2 separate regions of the Homo sapiens genome follow, and region 2 is linked to region 1. Evidence: promoter capture Hi-C in 16 types of primary human blood cells and fetal thymus (Javierre and others, 2016). All regions are on one chromosome and are shown on one strand. Each heading gives the region's core, a stretch centred on a gene start or on the middle of the fragment in contact. The rest is flanking DNA. Distances are from core to core; before and after follow the strand shown.

Region 1 (5,746 bases), core at 863-3,362:
GGGGACGGTATTAACTCCACAGAGGATTACTAAGCCTATACAATTCACTGAAGCTAGGGATCATTTACATAAGACCTTATTTTATTTTTTTCTTTCAAGTGTCATTATTGGAAGACCCATTGTCAAGTTCCAATTAAAATGGAACAATCATCTTTCCAGGGTGGATTCTCAACAAATAGTTGGGAGAATGGACAGAATCTGTTGTTCTTTATGTATGTATTTTATTTAAATTGCAAATAACCTCAAGTTTTTAGTGGTGTATAATAATAGATATTTATTTTTTCTCAGTCACTAGCTTGTGATTCAGCAGGGGTTCTGCCAGAGTTCAGAAAGATTTAACTCCAGGCTGACCATCAGAAACTTGAATACTGGTACTGCCACAGATGTGGGAGAAAAGTTTCCTTATTTTGAACATCATTAGCAACTTCTGATACAAAGTCCTTGGTAAAAGAGTTTTACTTGAGGCTAGAACTTTAGCTGCAAGGGAGACTGGAAACATGAGTTTCTGATATTTTCATCTTATTTAGTGGGAGGTTGATTCTGCATCCAAGATTCATAAGGTGGATGTATCATTTAGTTTGGGTAGGATTATGCCATGTAACAAACAATCCAGCACCCAAATCTCCATAGTTAAAATAATAAATATTTATTTTTTTCCTTATACAACACAGTAGTTGTAGATTATCAGTGAGGCCTTGGTTCATCATAATCTGTCTAGAACCTGGATGGTAGAGCAGCTATCATCTCAAGCAGTGCTTTACACTGTGCCAGAGACAGAAACTTTGGTGAGCTGGCATTAAAAATTACCAACTGGCCATGACAAATCTCACTTCTAATTACATTTTATCAGCCAAAGCAAATCAAATAGCCATACATAATTCTAAGGAGGGTGGAAAGTATAATCCTGTCATGTCCTAAGGAAGATGCTACAAGTATTTGGTGTTCTGAACTAATGCAACCATGATGAGAAATTTCTCAAACATGGAAAGAGAGTTGAGATGCTGGGCAACCAAAAAACAAGATAACAAATATCCACTAGAGACTGTCTTATTTATATCTTTTCTATAACAAATATCCACTAGAGACTGTCTTATTTATATCTTTTCTATGTATCACCATGCTCAGTCTAGCTCAGTAGCTATTAGTGACTTAGTAGATGCTGAATGAATGTTTGTTGAATAAAAAAAGAATGATTGTTTAATTTACCAAATCTTACTATAACTGAAGCTTAAAGAGAGTTACTTTGCTATTTTAACTCCACACTATGAAGCAAGATAAATATAAGTGACATTTGTATGCAACGTTGCACTTGAAAACCAGAGTGGTACAGTGGAAACCAAGAGAAAAAAGATGTTTCATTTCAATATTATTTTCAATGTGTTCACTTATTGGTTTCTCCCCACAGCAAGGATACTGTCTCCTGTGCTTAGTAAAGTTTGGGAGGGTAGGTATTCGATAAAAGCAGTTCTGCTATCATTAGCTGTGTAGTCTTGGGGAAGTGATATCAATGTAGCCATAGGTTAAGGTTATTCAGCTGTGCCTGAGCACGCGCGTACACACATCTTAGTAATATTCGTCTTTGTATTGTAAAGATCTCCAAGACTGGAAAGCAATACAATTGTAATACAGTTGTACAGTTGTGATTGTCATGTGACATATTTACAGCCTAGTGTCTATCACAAAGCATCCATTCAAGGGAGGTTTATTGATTTTGTAGTAGTAACCATGCTCTATTCTTGATGTGGAGTGGGATGGATATCTAAGAAAGCATGTAATGCATTTGAAAAAGTTTGCCAAGGGTCCTGGGTAAAGGGGTTTTGGTGACGTGGTTCCCAACGAATCAAGAATAATAAACAATGCCCTTCGTCCTCAAATCTCAAAGGTCAAATACTTCACAACTACCAATAGGCACCAAGAGCTCGCGTTCTTTCCTCCAGTAACCAGAGCCCCGCCCGCTAGCGGTCCGTCAACGACCGCAAAGCCCCGCCTCCTACGGCGGCCCGCCAATCGGCTGCGCGGCCCGGGCCCAACCCTCGTGAGTCACGTGACAAGGCCAGGCCCGCTTCCGGCACGTCGCGGGCGGCTGACGTCGCCGGGGCCCGGCGTCGCGTCAGGGCTGGCCGGCGGCGGAGGCGGCGGCGGCGGCGGCGATGGCAGCGGACCCTGAGCGAGCTTGAGGGCTCGGACCCAGCTCCCTCCCGCGAAACCTTGGGCGGATCCGGCGCTGCGGCCCCAGCTCGCTCCGCTCCTGCTCCCTCCCCGGCCGCTGCCTGGGCGGAGGCAGAGGCAGAGGCCCGGGCTGGCCGCCCTGCTCGTGCCCCAGCTCGGCCCCGGACGGCCCGGCTGCTGTGCAGAGAGGAGGCCGAGTCGGTAAGAGGCGGCGGCGGCTGAGCCGGCAGGCCGCCTGGCCCCCGCCGGGCCGCCCGGGACGCCCCCATTCTGGTGTCTCTCTTTCCGGCCCGCTCCCCTCCCGCCTCCCTCCCCGTAACTCGCCGGCCCTATTGTCTGGGCGCCGCAGCTCCCTCTTCCCCTCCCTTCCTTACCCCCCTGCGGAGGGCCGGATGGCTGTCAAACCTGGAGGCTTCTCCAGCTCCCTGCCAGCCCTGTCAGCCTTTCCTGCCTGTCTCGTGCCACCCCCTCTCTGTCTGGCCTCACCTCCTCACCTTTTTTGGCCTGGCGGTCATTCTCTGACCATTGCTTTACATTGTCGGTCTCTATGTCTTCTTGCTCATTTCTTCTTCCCTCTAACTTGTCATCTCCGAAAACTTCCACTGTCCTATTTCTTGCCATTCTTTGCTCCTTTCCTTACTGTTTTTACTCCTCTCCGTGCTTTCTGCCTTGTTTTTGCTTCAAGTTTTACTCCCAGTAGACTGTCTTACTTTATGAAAGTTCCTTAATTCAAATCCCTCTTCATCCTTCCCTCTTCGAACCTAAGACAAAGGAAAATCTTGTTTTTTTTCTGGTACTTCATCCCTAAGTGTCACTGGGGGATTATACTCATTCAATCCATCACTTAATTATGGGCTCTAAGTTTGATTCTAGATGTTAGTGTACCTTGTGAACTATCCCTTACTGAATTCTTCCTGTGACAGACAGCAGAAAAGGTTGATTCGATTTCTACACAAACATTTAAGTAACTGCCTTACGTGTTGCGCACTGACAAGACCTCTATTAAAAATATTCATACATTTGTTCTTTTGCACCAGCTACACCCTGGGCAAGCTCCCTGTTAACTTTTTAATGCTCTAATATTTGCTTATACCATAGCAGGAGGATACCCACTCTCCCCCTCCAACCATGGGTATTTGAGTTCGCATATTTTCATGGCCAGTATTGATGCTATTTTTTCCCTTACCTATCAGACTCTTTCAAAGAGAAAAGAGGGAGCAGTTGGAATTTTATGTTTGTTGTTCTATTTTGTCTATTATGAATTGTGACAAAACCATTATAAAAGATGACAAGTGTGTGTGTTTCTTTTTTTCTTTTTAAACTGTAGGGAACATAGTCATTAGTGATCTCAAATACCGAAAGACATTTTACGGATCTCTCCTCGCCCCTGATAACAATCAATTTACATTCTTAATTATGAGTTATGTTTTGATTAGGTTATCTCAAAATGTATTCATATTCCTCACATACCCATTAGTGAAAAAGAGGCCACCTCAAGTGTGCTCGGTGGCCACTGTGGCCCAAAATATAGTACTTTGCATGTGAATGACCTAGGGATACATAGGTACTCCTTTGCAGTTTTTGTTCTAGCATTACAACCACTTTTATTATCAATGTGGACACTGTCTAAATTGAAATATAGTAGAAATACTCAGTTAACAAAAGCATGTTATTATTGCTTGTTGAATGTAAAGTATAAGAAAGCAGTCTCTTTTGTAATACTGTATGTTAAATTAAAATTATTGAATTATGTGCTACCAAGGTGGGAGATCATGGGTAATGAAAAATCCTAATCCCAAGAGGAATTAGTGGTATCTTCACTGGCAGAGGAGTGTGCCTACTGTTTCCTCCATCTTTGTGTGCTGTAGGGCCTTATCTAGTGTTTTGTATTATGAGGCACTCAACAAATATTTGTTGAAATTAAAAATTGATTTTGTTCTCAAGAATTTCAGTAGTCCTATTCCAGAACACTCAGCTGTCTTAATTTTTCAAAGGCAGGAAAGCATTTTCAGCTCTCCCCGTGGAGAATTTTCTTGGGTATCTGGAAGCTCAAATGTAAAGCATTTTTAGCTATTAACAATTTTTAACAGTCCATTTACTCATTCTTTTTAGATAGTTTTCTTTGTTCTTTTTCTTAAATCATTATCAAGATTGCCTGCAGATTGCACAGAACTTTATATAGAGATGTTGGTAATACTCCTTCAAATTTCTTAACAATTTGGCAAGTATTTCATATTCTCATGTATTGTTTTAGAAATTCTGTTTAATTTTAATTTGACCTGTTCCCTTATACTCTACTTCCTATGCATTTTCTGCATTGGAATCTAACTTTTTTCTTTCTCTTGAGGTAGTGAAAAGAGAATACTGAAGAATAGGATCTCAAGATGAGTAAAAAGCCCCCAAATCGCCCTGGAATCACTTTTGAGATTGGTGCTCGTTTGGAGGCACTGGACTACTTACAAAAATGGTATGGAAAATATAGAACTTTCACCTAAATATCACAATATCTGTAGCCTTACATATGTTAATTAAAACAGTAAATTCCACTGATGGTAGCAGAAACATCAGTGTATTCACATTTCGATTACACATATATGTTGTTTTTTAGTTTTCCTACTCTTTAGGCTTTTTAGGTTTAGCATTTAAAAACTATTTTTAGTCAACTGACTAAATTATTTAGAACAATCATTTTTGGTGTTTGAGAAATGAAAATAATTGTCTAGAGTATGCGGTTTATGTATACCTCATGTATACCTCACATGAGCTGTATTGGTGGAAGTAGAGAGAGGAGTAATCCAGAGAACCAACTTCTCATGTTTTGGATAAATTTTGATTTAAATTGGTATTTTTGGTCTGTCAGTGGTAGTCTTTCAAACTACAGAGTATATTAATGGTTAGCATAGCATTTTTTCATAGTGAACACTTTCAAAAACATCTCCACTATTCATTATCTCACCTAAAACCAAAATCACACTTAACCTCCTATTTTCCCTGGTGGGCCTTAACCTAAAGGCAGGTTGTTACTGTCTCCAGTGCAAAATAGGCTGTCCTTTCAGAACTTGTGTGTCTCCCCCTATTCTGGCCATTGTGGTAAGTGGTAAATTTAAACACCTCCCAACATAGCCTTTATACAGTGGTTAGGAAAAGTTGATGAATTGGTATAAAACTACTATCTGGAAAGGAGAGAAGGGGAAGCTACATGCAGGGGTCCCTGGGCCAGAGTAGGAATGAGGAGGATTCTCCTTTCTCCTAAGGAGCGTATTCCTCATTTGGGTTAACTGGCCCCTCATTCTGCTGTCTTGGCAGATGTCTTTTGTTGCCATTTGCAGGCTCCTAACCTGAGAGGGGCATTAGAGGGGTTCCGCTTCTGGGAGGGATGCTGCCTTTGCTCCTCCTGAAGCCCGTTTATTTTGATGCGAGTTCTTGTTTAGCAGCTCTTGGACTTTCCCAGACTTTTTGACATTTTCTCTGATTTAAAACCATACTGGGCATTTTGTAGATTTACTTTTGATTGATTTGTATTAAGTCAACTTCCCGAGTTGGCAATGGCAGGCAGAGAAATCTTGTTTAGTCATAA
Region 2 (4,927 bases), core at 61-2,560, 7.7 Mb before region 1:
TAATCCCAGCTACTCGGGAGGCTGAGGCAGGAGAATTGCTTAAACCCAGGAGGCGGAGGTTGCAGTGAACCGAGATTGCACCACTGCACTCCAGCCTGGGTGACAGAGTGAGACTTCATCTCAAAAAAAAAAAAGGGGGAGGGGGGGAAGGAAATAGGATAGAAACAAAAGATACAGTGCACTTCTGAGATTAGATTTCGAAAAGACTAACTTCTGGCTTGGGCACCCTCTGTAGCTTGCTAGTCCAGGGGAAGCAACATATCATGGTGTGAGAGAGCCCTGGGGAGAAGCCCATATGACAAGGAACTGAGGCTTGCCAAAAACCACCTGAGTGAACTTGAAAGTAGATCCCTTATAATCCCAGTCCAGCCTTCAGATAAGACCATAGCTCCTTGTTCCCAGCCTGACTGCAATGTTCTAAAAGCCCCAGAGCCAAAGGCAGCCAGCTATGCCCTACCCTCCGGACCATAGATGCTATAAAGCTTATTGTCTTAAGCCACTGGGTTCTGGCATAGTTTATTATGCAGCAATAGATAATGATCCTAATAATGGCATCCCAAGCAGAGGTTACAAGTAAGTGCAAAGGCCCCAGGGCAGGAATGTGCTAGATGGCTAGCAAGGTGGCTAAAGTGGCTGGAGCAGAGTCAGCTAGGGGCGGAAACAGAAGAAGTAGACTGGATTGGATCTGAGAGCCAAGAAGCCACTACAGCTGTCTAGAACTCCCATGAAGGTACCCTGTAATACACATTAAGGCATACATTATTAACAAGTTCTTTTAGTTTCCTCTGTGATACTTGCTTGTTAAACCACACTGATCTCTAACAGGCTGAATTTCAGATAATTTCATTTCATTTTCTGCATGGATATGGTCTGGCTTGGGAAAGCAGAGAGGGAAAGGGGAAATAATGGACAGTGGGCAAAACAGTCACATACTAAAGCCCTCTGAAGACCACCAAACTAACCCAGAAGGTCTAAGTAGGATGAAACTTTACACCAGGAGTGTCCAATCTTTTGGCTTCCCTGGGCAATATTGGAAGAAGAATTGTCTTGAGCCACACATAAAATACACTAACACCAAAAATAGCTGATGACCTTAAAAAAAATCGCAAAAAAATCTCATAATGTTTTAAGCAAGTTTACAAATTTGTATTGGGGCACATTCAAAGCCATTCTGGGCCGCATGTGGCCTGCAGGCCTCAGGCTACACAAGCTTGCTCTAGACTCATGAAGAGGAGGACAAGCTATGATTAACAGGTCCAATGGCTACCCGATTTGGGATACCATGACAGGGCAACAATGTGGCCCTGGGAAAAACAACTTAAAGCAAAGTAACATTACTTGCCCTTTACTCTACTCTCTCCCAACATACAGAAGGACAGACAGACTCAGCACCTGCATGCACACATTCGGGGAAGCTTCAGTCTGGGATAACGACAGAGATCAAGACTTTCGTGTGTCAATCTCTTGTTTTAATCCTTAGTCCCTTACTCAAGAATTACGCTGTAGACAACTTTAAAAGAACATGAGGAGGATAATAATAACCAAATATGTTCGGCAATAGTAAAACAAATATTATGGGTCTTTATTACCTAGGTAAATCACCTTTCTAAAATTCTATATATAAACTTTATATTAAATTTTTAATGCAAAAGCATATGAGTTATATTTAATATACTTTTACTGAAATGAACTCACTGCTTGTAATCTGTTTTGCCCCATGAAGGGCACTTGTGTTTTCTATTTCTAATAATGCAAGCATCTCCTGCTAAGTTTTTGAAGATGGAAGAAGTTAAAACAAGATTAGCTGAAAGAAGGAAATCACTTAGTTACATTTTATGTACTAGACCTCCTAACCCGGACTAGTTATATTTTCCATGTAACAAATGGAATTTCCATAATTTGTACAAATATAATTTGGCTAGAGTATTTGGTAAATAGCCCCCTCGTTGGCTGAAGGACTAGTCCTGAAGAACAGAATCTAAGAACCATCATTAAAAATGCCTAATCAAGTTGCAGCTAAGAGGTAGGTGGATGGCTTTACAAAGTGTTAAGACTCAGCTAAGTCTTAAAAAACCACTTTAGAATTAGGTCCAAATAAACACTGTAGAAGAAGCTATGTTAAATTATCCTTTCAGAGGTTCTCTTGGTGCTAGGGATCAAGAACACTTGAAGATCAGTTTTCTCAATACAGGCTATATTATTATTGGCATGAAATCCAGAGATCCCACTATATTTTCTTATTTTCTTTTACAAGTGCCGGTAACTTCATTTTTAATAATTTGGCGTGGAACTGTGATTTTCAGTTTGGGAAGTAATCCTAATCAAAAGACATGCTTTCAAGAATAAGGCATGACATCCTTACACCAATTACCCTGAGTACAGAATAATATTTCTTAAGGAAATCGAATTGTCGTGGACAAACAGTTTACCCTCTTCAGAGGACAAAAGAAGGCAGGTCTATTTTTAGCCTTTCGCAAAACCTCAGTTCCATAAAGGAAGCACTGGTCTCCACAAATCCATTATCACAAACAAAATATAACGGTTGCTGATCAAGATAAATGCAAGCTGCATATATTTTCCAGAAAAGTTCTGAAATGAGGCTGAACCTGAAATCCTGGGAAAGGCAGGTGAAGGACAATTAGAGAAGGTGTCCCTTGTAGTGCACAAAGACAGTAAAACTTCGCCCTCACTACGCCTCACCTATGTTTGAGGGAGCTCCATGCGCTTGCAATCAGGAGACCCAGTTTTATGGCTCTGTGACTTTTTTTCTTTCTCCTGTCCGATCATAATCCTGATTCCGATCCCAGGAATCAGGGCCCTGGGAACTTTTTTTTTTTCCCCCAAATGCAAAGGATTTTGACATCAGTATGTCACAGGTGAAGGCATTAAGGCGCGGCGAGCAGCAATGACTTGCCCAAACTCACAGCCCATGGCATAACTAGAATGCAAATCCACGTCTGTCAGCCTGTAAAAGTCCTCACTACTAGCCTTTCAGTTTTCTCAAAAGCAAAGAGAAATAACGACGACATCCATACAGCAGTGTTCCCGGAAACTTGGAAGGATGAGATTCGGACCAAGCAGCTGAACGGTGCTTCCTAAAGCGAGGAAGGGGTGTGCAAAATGATTTCCCCCTAAGCGGAGACGAAGAGCTGGATTACAGCCCCCGCCCCAGAAAGCCCCTAAGCCCTCCATCCCGAGTCCCCCATCCAGGCTGCACGCGACTCTGCAGACCTCCCCGTGGCCAGCGCGGCCCAGCGGGGAGGGGAAGGGGGCCATGCAAAAATGGGGCGCGCTCACTCCATCCCCACTCACCTGTCAGCCGGGCCGCGCCACGGCGCACGCGCAGGGCCGGAGGTCGCGCGCGGAGCCGGCACCCAGTTTCCACCCCTCCCTCAAGGCGGCGGTCCTCTTCTATCCGCAGTCCCGGACCTGGAGCGGGTCAGACCCCGACTTCCGCCCCTGACTCCCCAGGCGGTCACATGACCGAAGCGGCTGGGAGCAGGGAGGGGCATCATGTGACCACTCGCCGGCGACGGCTGATGACGCAAGAGCCCGCTCTCACTTTTCAGCGGCAGGCGAAGGGGGCTGAGGAAAGGAGGTGGGTCTAGGCAGGGGAAATTGGGGTGCCACCAGACGGAGACAGCTTGGACTACCAGGTAGGGAAGAAGCGGGGGACGGCAATGGGGAGGGTGGCAGGAGTTTCGCCACCCTCAGGGACACTCCACGGGGACTCCGAGCCGGGGGTCCGTCTACCCGGATTATGGTTGTGGAACTTTTCACGCCACGGTAGTGAGTCTGGGACAGTTTACCCTCCTGTCCGAGACGCCATCTCTCCATCCTTTCGCCTCAAGTGTGTAGGGGCAAGATTACGAATTTTTGATCCAAATAGATTTTGTTTGAACTGACTTTAAAAGTAAGGCCACGGGAAGGTCGTTTGAATAAACTCTCTGGACCTCAATTTCCTCTTCAGTTATGTAGATTGCAGTGAGAATTAGCGATAAGGAGAATAAAGTGCCGGGACACCAGTTTATGGCATTCTGTAGGTGACCGAGAAATGATGATGTCTGTTGTTATTTTTGTAACTGGCCAAATCTTTATTGGTCCCCTATTTTGTGTGAGGAATTGCTTTATATGCAATAGAATATGTCAGGGTTCTAGTTTAAGGAGGTGTCAGTTTAAAGAAGCTGCAGACATGTGAGCAAATAGTTGTGATGAGTTTCATAATAGGAGTGTGTTGTGTACATGTGCATGTGATAGGGATAATGGTAGCATGAGGGAGGGAAAAGCAATTGTATGAGAAGGATTCAGAGAGAAGGGATTATCCTTGCATGTTGAAAAAGGAGAGGCAGCTCTGGCTGACTTGTACAAGGCTCCCATGGATTTAAAGGAAGTCAACATATTGTCTATAAATAACATGCAGAGAAAAAACTCAGGAAATGCACAACTTGTTCTAAACTTTCTTGGAGATCATAGGTACCGGGAAGAAAAAGATCAGTGTTATTACCTGGGGAGGGATCCAAGAGAGATTGATTTAAACCAGTTATTCTCAACTGATGCACTATTGACATTTTAGGCCAGATAATTTTTTGCTGTGGGGTCAGGGTGAGGGCTGTCCTGTGTTTTGTAGGATGCTTAAGAGCATCCCTGGCCTCTGCCCGCTAGATGCCAACCACAAAGTCTACAGATACTGCTAAATGTCCCCTTGCGAGAGGGGTAAAATCCTTCTTGGTTGAGAACCACTTAAACCAAGCCATGAAAGATGGTATCTTAGTCAATGTGGGCTTCTGTAACGGAAATGCCATAAACTAGGTAGCTTATGAACAACAGAAATTTATTTCTCACAGTTCCGGGGCCTGTTTCCTGGTTCATAGGTGGCTTCTTGCTGTGTCCTCACATGGTGGAATGGCAAAGCAGCTATCTGGAGCAT

Evidence for each region. The method cuts DNA at HindIII sites, captures the fragments that hold promoters and counts their contacts. A CHiCAGO score of 5 or more calls a contact.
Region 2: a contact is called between a fragment that was not itself captured here and the fragment with the promoter of PHF20L1 in region 1, in 1 of 17 cell types (total B cells). The highest score is 8.5, in total B cells.

Annotation. Positions count from the first base shown.
Region 1 is chr8:132,773,276-132,779,021 of GRCh38, forward strand. It overlaps PHF20L1 (PHD finger protein 20 like 1), which reads left to right and starts at 2,113. Exons shown (of 21, transcript NM_016018.5): 1 at 2,113-2,370; 2 at 4,517-4,636. The coding sequence starts at 4,554. It also overlaps a transcript of TMEM71 not described here. RefSeq lists an enhancer at 1,842-2,343 and a silencer at 2,098-2,547. The HindIII fragment of the contact is 4,916 bases long and covers 1,226-5,746 here.
Region 2 is chr8:125,088,303-125,093,229 of GRCh38, forward strand. WASHC5 (WASH complex subunit 5) reads right to left here and starts at 3,490. Exons shown (of 29, transcript NM_014846.4): 1 at 3,313-3,490. It overlaps NSMCE2 (NSE2 SUMO ligase component of SMC5/6 complex), which reads left to right and starts at 3,558. Exons shown (of 8, transcript NM_173685.4): 1 at 3,558-3,656. RefSeq lists a silencer at 3,210-3,379 and an enhancer at 3,430-3,649. The HindIII fragment of the contact is 205 bases long and covers 1,209-1,413 here.